3 separate regions of the Homo sapiens genome follow, and regions 2 and 3 are each linked to region 1. The links are contacts of gene promoters, found by promoter capture Hi-C in blood cells and fetal thymus (Javierre and others, 2016). All regions are on one chromosome and are shown on one strand. Each heading gives the region's core, a stretch centred on a gene start or on the middle of the fragment in contact. The rest is flanking DNA. Distances are from core to core; before and after follow the strand shown. Region 1 holds the start of CCDC50 (coiled-coil domain containing 50). Region 2 overlaps P3H2 (prolyl 3-hydroxylase 2). Region 3 overlaps FGF12 (fibroblast growth factor 12).

Region 1 (3,336 bases), core at 837-3,336:
CAACATGCCAAAACCCTGCCTCTACTAAAAATACAAAAGATTAGCCAGGCGTTGTGGTGCACACCTGTAATCCCAGCTACTCGGGAGGCTGAGGCACGAGAATCACTGGAACCTGGGAGGCAGAAGTTGCAGTGAGCCAAAAGGAACTAGGGGAAGCCATCACACTCTAGGCCTGAAGGGACACTGGAAACAAATTGTTTTATTAGAGACCCATGAGAGCTGAGGCCATGGAAAAGAGGCCTCTACACAGGCCCTGTAGTCATAGAGGGACAGGACTGTGGCCAAAATTTTGGGTTAAAGGAAAGAAGAATACTCTGATATTTCTCTCCTCCCTTCTTTTGATTTTCTGCCAGTGCTTCCCATTGGTCAATCACAACAGGAAGCCACAGGTCAAAGGGGCCTAGTGATTTATCTGTAGGCATCCAAAGGCACGGCTTGGTAGAGAAGTAGAAACGATAGATTTGGGGAGGGAAACAGAAAATACTGCTGTTATAAATATTCTCTAGACCACAGGAAGTTAAAAAAAATTACTAGATTACAGGACAATTAAAAAATTCCCATAAATCTACCTTTCTAATACCACTTCCTTCTTATTCCCACATTTAACCTGCTGAGTGTTATCTCTGCCTAGCACTGGGGTGGGTAAACTTTTCCTGTAAAGCATATTTTAGACTTTGAGGCTTAAGAGGCAAGGTCGAAAATATTATGTCCTATTTATGTAGTGATTTGAAATGTAATTATTTGAACATATAAAAAACAGTCATTCAAATTCAGTGGCGTAGATTTGGCCTGTGGGCTATACTTTGCTACCCTCTGGCCTTGAAAGTCTTCTAAATTTTTGCTAGCCTAAAATCCACCTACTTTTCAATGTCAAGTTCAAATAAAACCTCCCCTACGTGGCCTCTCATACTGGGACTCTGAGCTGTGAGTGACAGAAAATCAACTATTACTAGCTTAAGCAAAACTGAGGATAAGTTGAGAGTTTGCGGGTTGTAGATCCCAGAATCCAGGAGTTGCTGAAATGCCAGCTGCTCTGGGGATATCCTGCTTTGCTACTGTGGTAACATCAGAACATGCCCTCTTCATCTCCCTTTCTCTTCTCTTTGCTTCTGTCTTCAGTTTGGCCTCATCATCTCCTAGAGGCAGATCTTTTCCACAAGAAACAGAATATGTAACTCTTTATGTACCCAGGAAAGTATTCTGTTTGACCTGTCTTGGTCACCCAGCCACCCTTCGATGAACCCATGTCGGTGGAGGAAGGGGGAAGAGTGATGGGGTAGTCTCGAGGTTCAGACATGGCACACGTTTGGGAGAGAAGCTCACCTCTGAGGAGTGGGGAAAGAGGCAGTTTCCCAAAAGGAGGATGCATTCTGTTGCCAGGAGATGAAACAGGAGAGGTTGTCTATTTTAGAGAGATAGAAATGTCACAATTACAATCCAATGTGTGCAGCGCTATAACAGAGATAAGTCTGACGCCTCGTTATCACCCACAGTACCTAACATCACACTTGGTAGACACATTCATGCGATTTTGATGAATGAATGACTCAGTTCTCCCAGCTGATTGTGTACACACTCTACTCCAAACTGGCCCAGAATTTTATCAGCTGCTCTTCATTCTGTACGTTGTATTTGGGGTTTTTATGGCCATCTACCATCTCTCCTCTAATTCCGGGTGCAAAAAGAGTGTATGAGAGAGAGGCAAGCATGCAGTAAACATCCTGTGTTAATCTCAATCCCAGAACCAGACCACAGAATGCTGACTACACCGCTCACGGGAAAGACTATGTTTTAGGTGACCCGTGTGGCCTTTTTGTTGAGGCCTTTAGGATACAAGGCCCCCACCTAAAGACGCGACCCTCCCGTAGGAGGGGGGCAGGGCCCGGGGGCGGGAGCACAGCGGGGCCCCAGCCTCAGGCGGCGCGTCACTGAGCACAAAGGAGACAACAGCGAGGCGGCAGCGGGCGCTGATCTTCGCTCGCCAGCCACTCGCAATTGCGGTTACAGACCTGCAGCTCCCCCTCCCCCAGCCGGCCCGCCCGCCTTTCTGTCTCCTCTCTCCCTCCGTACTGGACGGCCCCGGTCCATTTCCGGGCTCCGGATATTTGGTATCGATTGGGGCCGGGGACGCGGAGCAGGTGGCCGCGGCGGGGCAGCTGGGCCGCCAGCTTGGTGCCTCGGGGACCGTCTCCCGCTGCTTTGGTCACCAGCCCCTGCCCGCCCGACCCGCTCCGTTCTCCGGCCTGCGAGCCCTGCCGGCCGGACTTTGCGCCGCGTCCGGCGCTGCTGCTGCGCTCGGGGCCCCGCTCGGCGCCGGCGGTGACCGGGAAGCCCGCGTTAAAGGGGCAACCGGGACCCTGGCCCGGTATGGCTGAAGTCAGCATCGACCAGTCCAAGCTGCCTGGAGTCAAGGAAGGTAAGGGCCCCGGAGGGAGAGCGCGCGGGACCCTCCCCTCTCCCAGCCCGAGGTTCTCTCAGGTCAGGGGCGTTGCCATTTCGGCTCCCGCGGCCCTCGCCCGGTGCCCGCCCTGCGTTGGCCTTGCCCGGACGTGAAAGGAATTGAATTCAGGTTCTAGTGTGGGACGTTGGGCAAGTCTCCGACGTTCCAAGCCCGTTTTTTCTCAAGGGGGTGGTTGGGGGGGGGGGGGGCTAGCAGCAGCCCCAGCAAGTAGGTGGCTGTGCCCGTGTTCTCGTGCATCGCAAAGCCTCAGTGGACGCTGAGAGCCGGGTGAATCTGACTTACTCCGCTTCTAAAAAATCGAGGCCCAGCCTGGCTGGCTTGAAGGCTGGGAAGTGGAGAGGGGTTGACATTCAGTTCCGTGTGGAGCCTTTGTTTTGAAACATGACTCTTTCCCTCCTTCTCTCCCTACTTTTCCTAGGCCGGCGTCTGGCTGGCTGACTTTCCCACCTTCCTCAAGGTTTAAAAGTTTAGTCTTGGCTGTGTTCTGCGCGGGCGGGAAGCCACTATAAGCATTTTCTTACAAACAAAACACACACACACACACACACACACACACACACAATAGTGAGCGAGGGGAACAGGGGACTGATGGCCTTGTCATTGCTTTTTGTACCAATGTCCAGGAAAGTAGAGATTAGTACTGACCTGGCTTTAGCTGACAGCAAGTAGCCTTTTGACTTCCCTTCTCTTGTTTTTCCACTAGCTGCCTCAGGACCTAGCTTTTTTTTGCTGAGATCTTAGGTGCTGGATCGCCTTATGCCTTGAGTTATCTTTGTTTATTCTTTGGTCCTAGGAAGCATAGACGTTCCAGAGTGCTGACGCAGACCCCTAAGTTCCAAGGGCTTTGCAAAATCGGCTTCTGTTGTGAATGTCAT
Region 2 (3,336 bases), core at 551-3,050, 1.2 Mb before region 1:
TTTTTTAAAATTAAGGTATGTACATTGTTTTTTAGACATAATGTTATTGCATACTTAACAGACTAAATTATAATGTAAACACAAATTTTATATGCACTGGGAAACCAAAAAATAAAAATTGTGAGGCTTGCTTTATTGCAATGGTCTGGAACCAAACCTGCAATATTTCTGAGGTATGCTAGTTTTCTAAATAACTGTGTAAAATCATATGGACAAACCTATGTCCTAGGAGAACTGACAATTCAAATTCAACAAGCATGAGTTTCCATCACGTGCAAGACTCAAATAGTACTATCAGCCATATGTAAATGTTTAGGTCAAAGATTCACACACAATAATCTGGAATTTAGGAGGTATTGATCATAAGACTATCAGACTTAATCTGGGACAATGGGTTACAGGAAAAGAAATCATTACTTAGAAACTTTTTTTCCCTATTCCAAACTCTGTGTAAATTGGTTTTCCATAAATAACACATTAGGTAAACCTTTGTTAACTATCTTATTGGGAAAGTGGACCAGGATGATCAAATCTGTATTTATTTATGAAGAGTTAAATCACAGTGTTCTAGAGGAGCTCATCTACAGACATATAAACAAGTGAAAGGGCAGGCTGGTGGCAAGGCTGAAAGAGCACTGGGACTTTTCCATACTTCTAAAGCAGAGGTAGGAAAGAATACTCAACAACTTGACATGAACTATAGCACAATCCGGTTCACCGACTTATGGTTAATTTAGTAGTGGTGACAAAGTTGACTTAGAGATTTTTATTCAACATTAGAAAAGTTTTTCAGTAGCTTTTTTTTTTCAATGAAGTCTTGCTCTGTCACCTAGGCTGGGGTGCAGTGGTGCGATCTCGGCTCACTGCAACCTCTGCCTCCCAGGTTCAACCGATTCTCGTGCCTCAGCCTCCCAAGTAGCTGGGATTACAGGTGCCCGCCACCACATCTGGCTAATTTTTGTATTTTTAGTAGAGACGGGACTTCACTATGTTGGCCAGGCTGGTCTTGAACTCATGACCTCAAGTGATCTGCCAGCCTCGGCTTCCCAAAGTGCTGGAATTGCAGGAGTGAGCCACTGCACCCTGCCTTCAGTAGCTTTTTGTGGTAAAGTATTGGTAACAAAACTCTGCTAGAGATCTGAAATCATATCCATTCCAAATTATATTCATCATCATCATCATTCAAAGATCATTTAGAAAGCATGCTCTCTCTAGTCAAAGGATTAGGCATAGCAGAACAGAAATATTAGTGATAATATCTATCCTACTCCAGCCAAACAGCATGGGGCAAAAACCACGGCTCAATTCACCTTTATGTCAGCTGGTCCGAGACAGCATGGACTTCCACCCACTCCCCTCCACTCCAGTGATGGTATCAGGGCACTCCTCCCGCTCCCAACTAGAGAGTGAGGGAAGAACTTCAAAGAGGAGGGAGCTGGATAAAGGGATTATTTAAATATTATTATAAAATATTTAATATTTTAATACCCTTTAAATTTCTTTAACAGTATCAAAGTTTGAGAAATGAACTACAGTGTAGAACACCACCAGGTTTAAAGATTGGCCTCTGGACAGTACATACAGGAAGCAAATCAGAATAGGATTGCAAAGCCTCTATAAATGAAATTGCTTTTACTTAGTATATCACGATATATTCGCTCAGAGAAGCATACCTACTTTCAATTCCTAGCACGGATGTCCTGATCAGTTGTAATAAATTTAACTTAAAACCCCCAGTGGTACTATGTAACCACAACTAAATCCATCTCAGATGTCATCTCATGGAGACAAGAGTCGGAAATCAGAGGACTGATGCCAATCATGCATGTGGATATTATTACTGCTAAATATTCCATGCATGTGTGTTCTGGCATGTGTGTCTTAGGGCCTTGGTACTGTTTTTTCCTCTTTTCTTTTTTGCATTATGTAACTATTTATAGGGAGTAGGCTGGCAACCATGGCCTAAAATACATTAACTAGAATTCAAAAGGAAGCTAGAAAACTGTATGCCTTTTTCAATGAAAAAGACTTTAATGATCCTTTCTGTGAGTACAAGAGAAATTTTCATTTCACAAAATCATGGAGTCTTATAGACTTTGGATTGGAAAATATTTTAAATCTCATTCATTTCAACATCACTCTGGTGCTTGCACCTTAAATACAACCTCTACATTAGGTATTTGTTTGACTCACGTTTGAACACCTTCTAGGGCTTCCTATTAGATCTCAGAATAGTGTGAGGAAAGTCTTTCACATTTGAGCCGAGATCTTGTTTTCTGTAATTTCTGTTATTTGGTCCTAGTGCTTCAATTCTTCAGTGCCATAAAGATCAGGAACAATCGCCTCAAATGATAATCTTTTTTGAAACTGCAAAAGGAGATTTTTTGTTGTTGTTGCTTGTCTTTTCTTCATTAGCTTACTCATCCTCTATATCAGCTGTTTCTCATATATGGTTTTGAGCCTTTTATCTATCTTCTTTGTCTCTCTTGAACATTGCCTAGTTTATTCTGTCCTCTTAAATTACCATTAAATTAAATATTTGTGTAACTTCCTTTCAAGTTTTACTTTAAAGGGATTCACTGCCCCAAGATGAGGACCAGCATTAGATACACTGGAAGTAATTCCTTTCCTGTAAACTTTTAAACTAATTTATGTCCATTGCATTTTATATTCCATTATTTTATAATCTCATCAGTTTTCTGTTTCCACAGGTAGACTGTTGGCTTGCTGTACCAATCCACTAAAGTATTTTAGCATCTCAAGCTGGCAGATGCAGAAGAGCTCTTATTAAGTAACTGGCCCAATGCTGCCCTAGTCCAAATGCAAACCCCAAGGACTAGAGAAAGCCATTTATGACAGAGCTGGGTGTAGAGATTAAATTGCTTGATTCCTAGACTTGTAACCCTCTACTACTTTTTGTGAGCTACTCTCCCATTTACCTGACTGCTAAACAAAAAGCAGTTTCATTTTGGTGTCTATGATGAAGAAATGTTTGTTGATTCTCAAACTTAAGTCATCTCCCATGGGTACAAGAAATCAGGGTAGGAAGGAGGCTTAAAGAGGTTTAAAATTCCCAAGATGTGTCTGTGGGAAGAGATTTTATCTATTAATATGAAACAGAGAAGATTTGGAATGTGTTTGAACAGAGTCCATTTAAAAAAAATACAAAGAAGAGGACACAATCTCAAGGAAATTGTGAAATCAGAGAATGGGAGAATTTAATGGGGAAGAAAGAAAAGAACATTTCTTAACATAGCAAATGAACAGCCTCGAATTTCCATTAAGAGGATGATTTTTGTTTTATCTTGATGGTGGAGAGGCAGGTAAGTCTGTGCT
Region 3 (3,336 bases), core at 368-2,867, 1.1 Mb after region 1:
GAGCTTTTTGGCTTTTTAAGTCATCATCAGCATAATTTACTCCATTTCCCCAGTGAGAAGAGGTGAGTATAAAGAAATTTAAGAAGTTAGCTAAGACCTAAATATATGGATATTGAGCTCAGAAGCAATGCTTAAATCAATTTATTTTATATATAGAAATTCGTAGGTTTCCTACCTGGGCCACTAAATCTCATAAGTCTTTCTCCACAGTTACTCGTACATTTCCAATATCTTTGCATTTTGGGATCAGGAATGAAATTAAGCCAACCTACTGATGATTTAGGTTAAACTAACAACCAGGTATTTAAAGGGTTATGTCCCAGGGATACCAATACTTTGATTTTTATGCTTTCTTTGAACAACTTAAGAATTTCTTATTCCTATTCTGAAGACATTATGAGTGGAAGAAGTTTTAATTACTTTGAAGAAAATTGTCAAATGCACATCAAAATGATAATTATGTAGTTATATTTAGTTATATATATATAGTCTATGTTTTTGGGCTCTAGTCAAACAAATAAAAACATGGGCAGTCTTAATTATCTCCACATTTTAAAAGGAAAAACAGAGGCTTTTTGGTCTTTTGCTTATTCATAGGCCAAGTCTTTCAACTTCCAAATCTACTATTAGGGCTAGTTTACACATTCATTTTAAACATTGCATTGTCCACAGATTACATCCAGGGCTCTGTCAGTTACCGTGAAATTCCAGACACTTCCACATTCTCTCTGCCCTCAACAAGCTTCCAGTTCATGACATTATGAACTTTCTTGGCTCTTGTTTTAATCGCCCACTAGCTGTATGCTGTTGGACACGTTATTCAACCTCTCTAAACTACATCTGCAAAATAGATACATAATAATACTAGCAGTACCTAACTAGGCTCTTGAAAGACTCAAAGAAGATGTGATAATAACGTAAAGTATGAGAATGACCATGCTGTTATTAAAATCTCCATTTAAATTAAGTCCCTGCCATAAAATACAGATTTCCTAAAACAGGAAAACACACCTTATGATTCATACACATCATCATTCACTCTTGGAATGTATTTAACAAAGGCTGAAAATTTACTTGAAATGAATGATTAACCTTGACATTGTCATGGCAAACAGAATTTCATTAGTGGAATATTGTCAGTGTCCTTGTCTTGAGAACACAAAGAAGTCTAGCTCTGCTCATACATCATCTTGCTCTGAGATCAGGCCCCTGACTCAAAGTCGGGTGAATATGAGCTCACTGGGCTCTGCCACAGCAAATGGAAGAAGACCTTTTCTCCATGAATTTTATTATATAAAGTAGCTGTATTTCCACTTGCTTTTTTCTGACATATTGTCAGTTACAGTAGGCTGACAAAAGCAATATAAAGAACTACTTTCTAATAATTTGTAAATTCCTTTATATAGCAAATTTATTCATGGTGCTTTATTCAACAATTCGACAACTGAATTACTACATGTTATATGTCCATCTGGTTTTGATCATCTTCCAAAACAGAAAAGAGAACAGATTTAATTCCTCTTTATGACATAGATGAAGGGTGGTATCATTGCCCAAAAAGGGAAATTTTCAATGTTCTGGAGAATAGGTATTTTGATAAGAAACATAGATGTAATTAATGTGAGCCAATGAGAAGTGCCCTACACACTTATAAGTGCATTACAATTATTGACACATTGAATCCTTACAACAACTCTATGAGGTAAGTTCTGTCATATCGCCATTTTATAAATGAAGAAACCAGGACAGAGAGGTTAAGTTGTTTAACCAAGGTCACCCAGCTAAGAATTGCCAGAGTTCAGATTCACACCCATATAATTTATTTCCAGAGTTTCCCTTTTACCTCTGTGCTATACGCATGTCAACAAAAACAAAACACCATGAATAATTACAATCATGTAATAAAGTCAATAAAATAAGAATGTGCAGATCACATACATTTATGTAACTCTTTACTAATTACAAATCATCTTCTCATGTATTATCTCACTGAGACTCTTCAACAATCTTATGATGGAAGCTAAAGGGAAAATAATAATTCAGTTTCACAAGCTGAGACTCCAATAAGTAATGTGATCGCCCAAGGTCATACAATCAATGAGTGAAGATCTATGAGTTTAATCCAGGCCTTTTAACCTCAATGTGACTACTGCCCTAACTAAAGTAACCTGGAGGGGAAAAATGAGAATGCCAAATGTACTTCCATTCACTAGCTTCTAACATGGTTTCACATCTTGTGAATGACCTTGAAGAGATCATTTTGTGTTGGAAGGGAGAGGAAACAAGTATCCCCAATTCTCTCCCCGTGAAGCTCTTTCCTTTTTCTAGATGAGGAAGCTACTCCTGGTTTTACTATTGTTGGCCAAGATAGGGTACTATGTTTTCTTTGGTTCTAGGAGGGTGGTCTTGAAACACTCTCCTTCTTAGTTTAGTAATTCAAGTCGAGCTCAATAAGAAAATCAAAGGGAAACTAAGTTAAAACAGAAAGTAAAGAAGCTTATAAGGGGAAAAATATAAATTTCCTCCATTTTCATTCCTTAAAAATGTACATTGGTTTGGCTTATACCACCTAGGAGATGGTTGATACTTGGTTATTTTCCTTCATAGCTGGGTTAAGGATGCTGAAAGACCTGTCACAACAGACCGCCCATCATTTTAGCCCTACTCTAAGTCCCACTGTCACTAACCCAGTGGCACCTTTTCCTTTTCAAAGAGAAACTCGGCTAGAAGATCCCTATTTGAATGTAATACCCATAAGGACAGGGCCATTGTCTATTTTGTTTACTTTCTTATCTCTAGTGCTTAAAATAATCTTTGCACATAGCCAGATACTCAAAAAATACTCAAATAAATGAATTAATTCATCAATCCATCCACCCAGATTTTTGAGCCAAATAGATGCATGGGTCATCCCAAAGTGAAGAATGGGGTATCAACTCTTTGTATCAGGAAATAAGCTCAGGTAACTCAAGGGTAGCCTCCACATTTCCAAAGTTGATTGTTTTGTTTTATCAACACTCCCTAAAATTCTCTGCCTAAATATTAAATCTGATATCCTCAGAGGGTACATGGTACCTAGGTTTCTGCTCTGATCACCCCCATCCCCATATCTAGGCCTATATTTTCAGTTCTGATACTTCTCTTCTCTCTCTCTCTCACACACACACACACACACACACACACACACACACACACACACACTCATGTTCACAGAAGAAAAGGAATATAATAAGGCAAACAGAGAGCCACAGACATCAGGTAAAATGAGTAGGCAACTTTAAAATCTCAGAATATGACTAAAATGACCTTAAAATGGTTTAATAATCTTCACATTCA

Evidence for each region. Contacts are between HindIII fragments. The CHiCAGO score rates a contact against its expected background, and 5 or more counts as called.
Region 2: a contact is called between a fragment that was not itself captured here and the fragment with the promoter of CCDC50 in region 1, in 1 of 17 cell types (neutrophils). The highest score is 5.9, in neutrophils.
Region 3: a fragment that was not itself captured here is called in contact with the fragment with the promoter of CCDC50 in region 1 in 1 of 17 cell types (endothelial precursors); the score reaches 6.4 in endothelial precursors.

What each region holds. Positions count from the first base shown.
Region 1 is chr3:191,327,308-191,330,643 of GRCh38, forward strand. It overlaps CCDC50 (coiled-coil domain containing 50), which reads left to right and starts at 2,087. Exons shown (of 12, transcript NM_178335.3): 1 at 2,087-2,416. The coding sequence starts at 2,368. It overlaps UTS2B (urotensin 2B), which reads right to left and starts at 3,219. Exons shown (of 9, transcript NM_198152.5): 1 at 3,107-3,219; 2 at 1,324-1,402. RefSeq lists enhancers at 1,654-2,255, 2,256-2,856 and silencers at 1,783-1,862, 1,963-2,242. The HindIII fragment of the contact is 9,896 bases long and covers 1-3,336 here.
Region 2 is chr3:190,103,004-190,106,339 of GRCh38, forward strand. The region is part of intron 1 of P3H2 (prolyl 3-hydroxylase 2); the gene reads right to left. Among named protein-coding and RNA genes, the nearest start is that of P3H2, 16 kb to the right of the region's middle. The HindIII fragment of the contact is 4,214 bases long and covers 1-3,336 here.
Region 3 is chr3:192,412,577-192,415,912 of GRCh38, forward strand. All of the region lies in intron 2 of FGF12 (fibroblast growth factor 12), which reads right to left. Among named protein-coding and RNA genes, the nearest start is that of FGF12-AS2, 100 kb to the right of the region's middle. The HindIII fragment of the contact is 1,754 bases long and covers 741-2,494 here.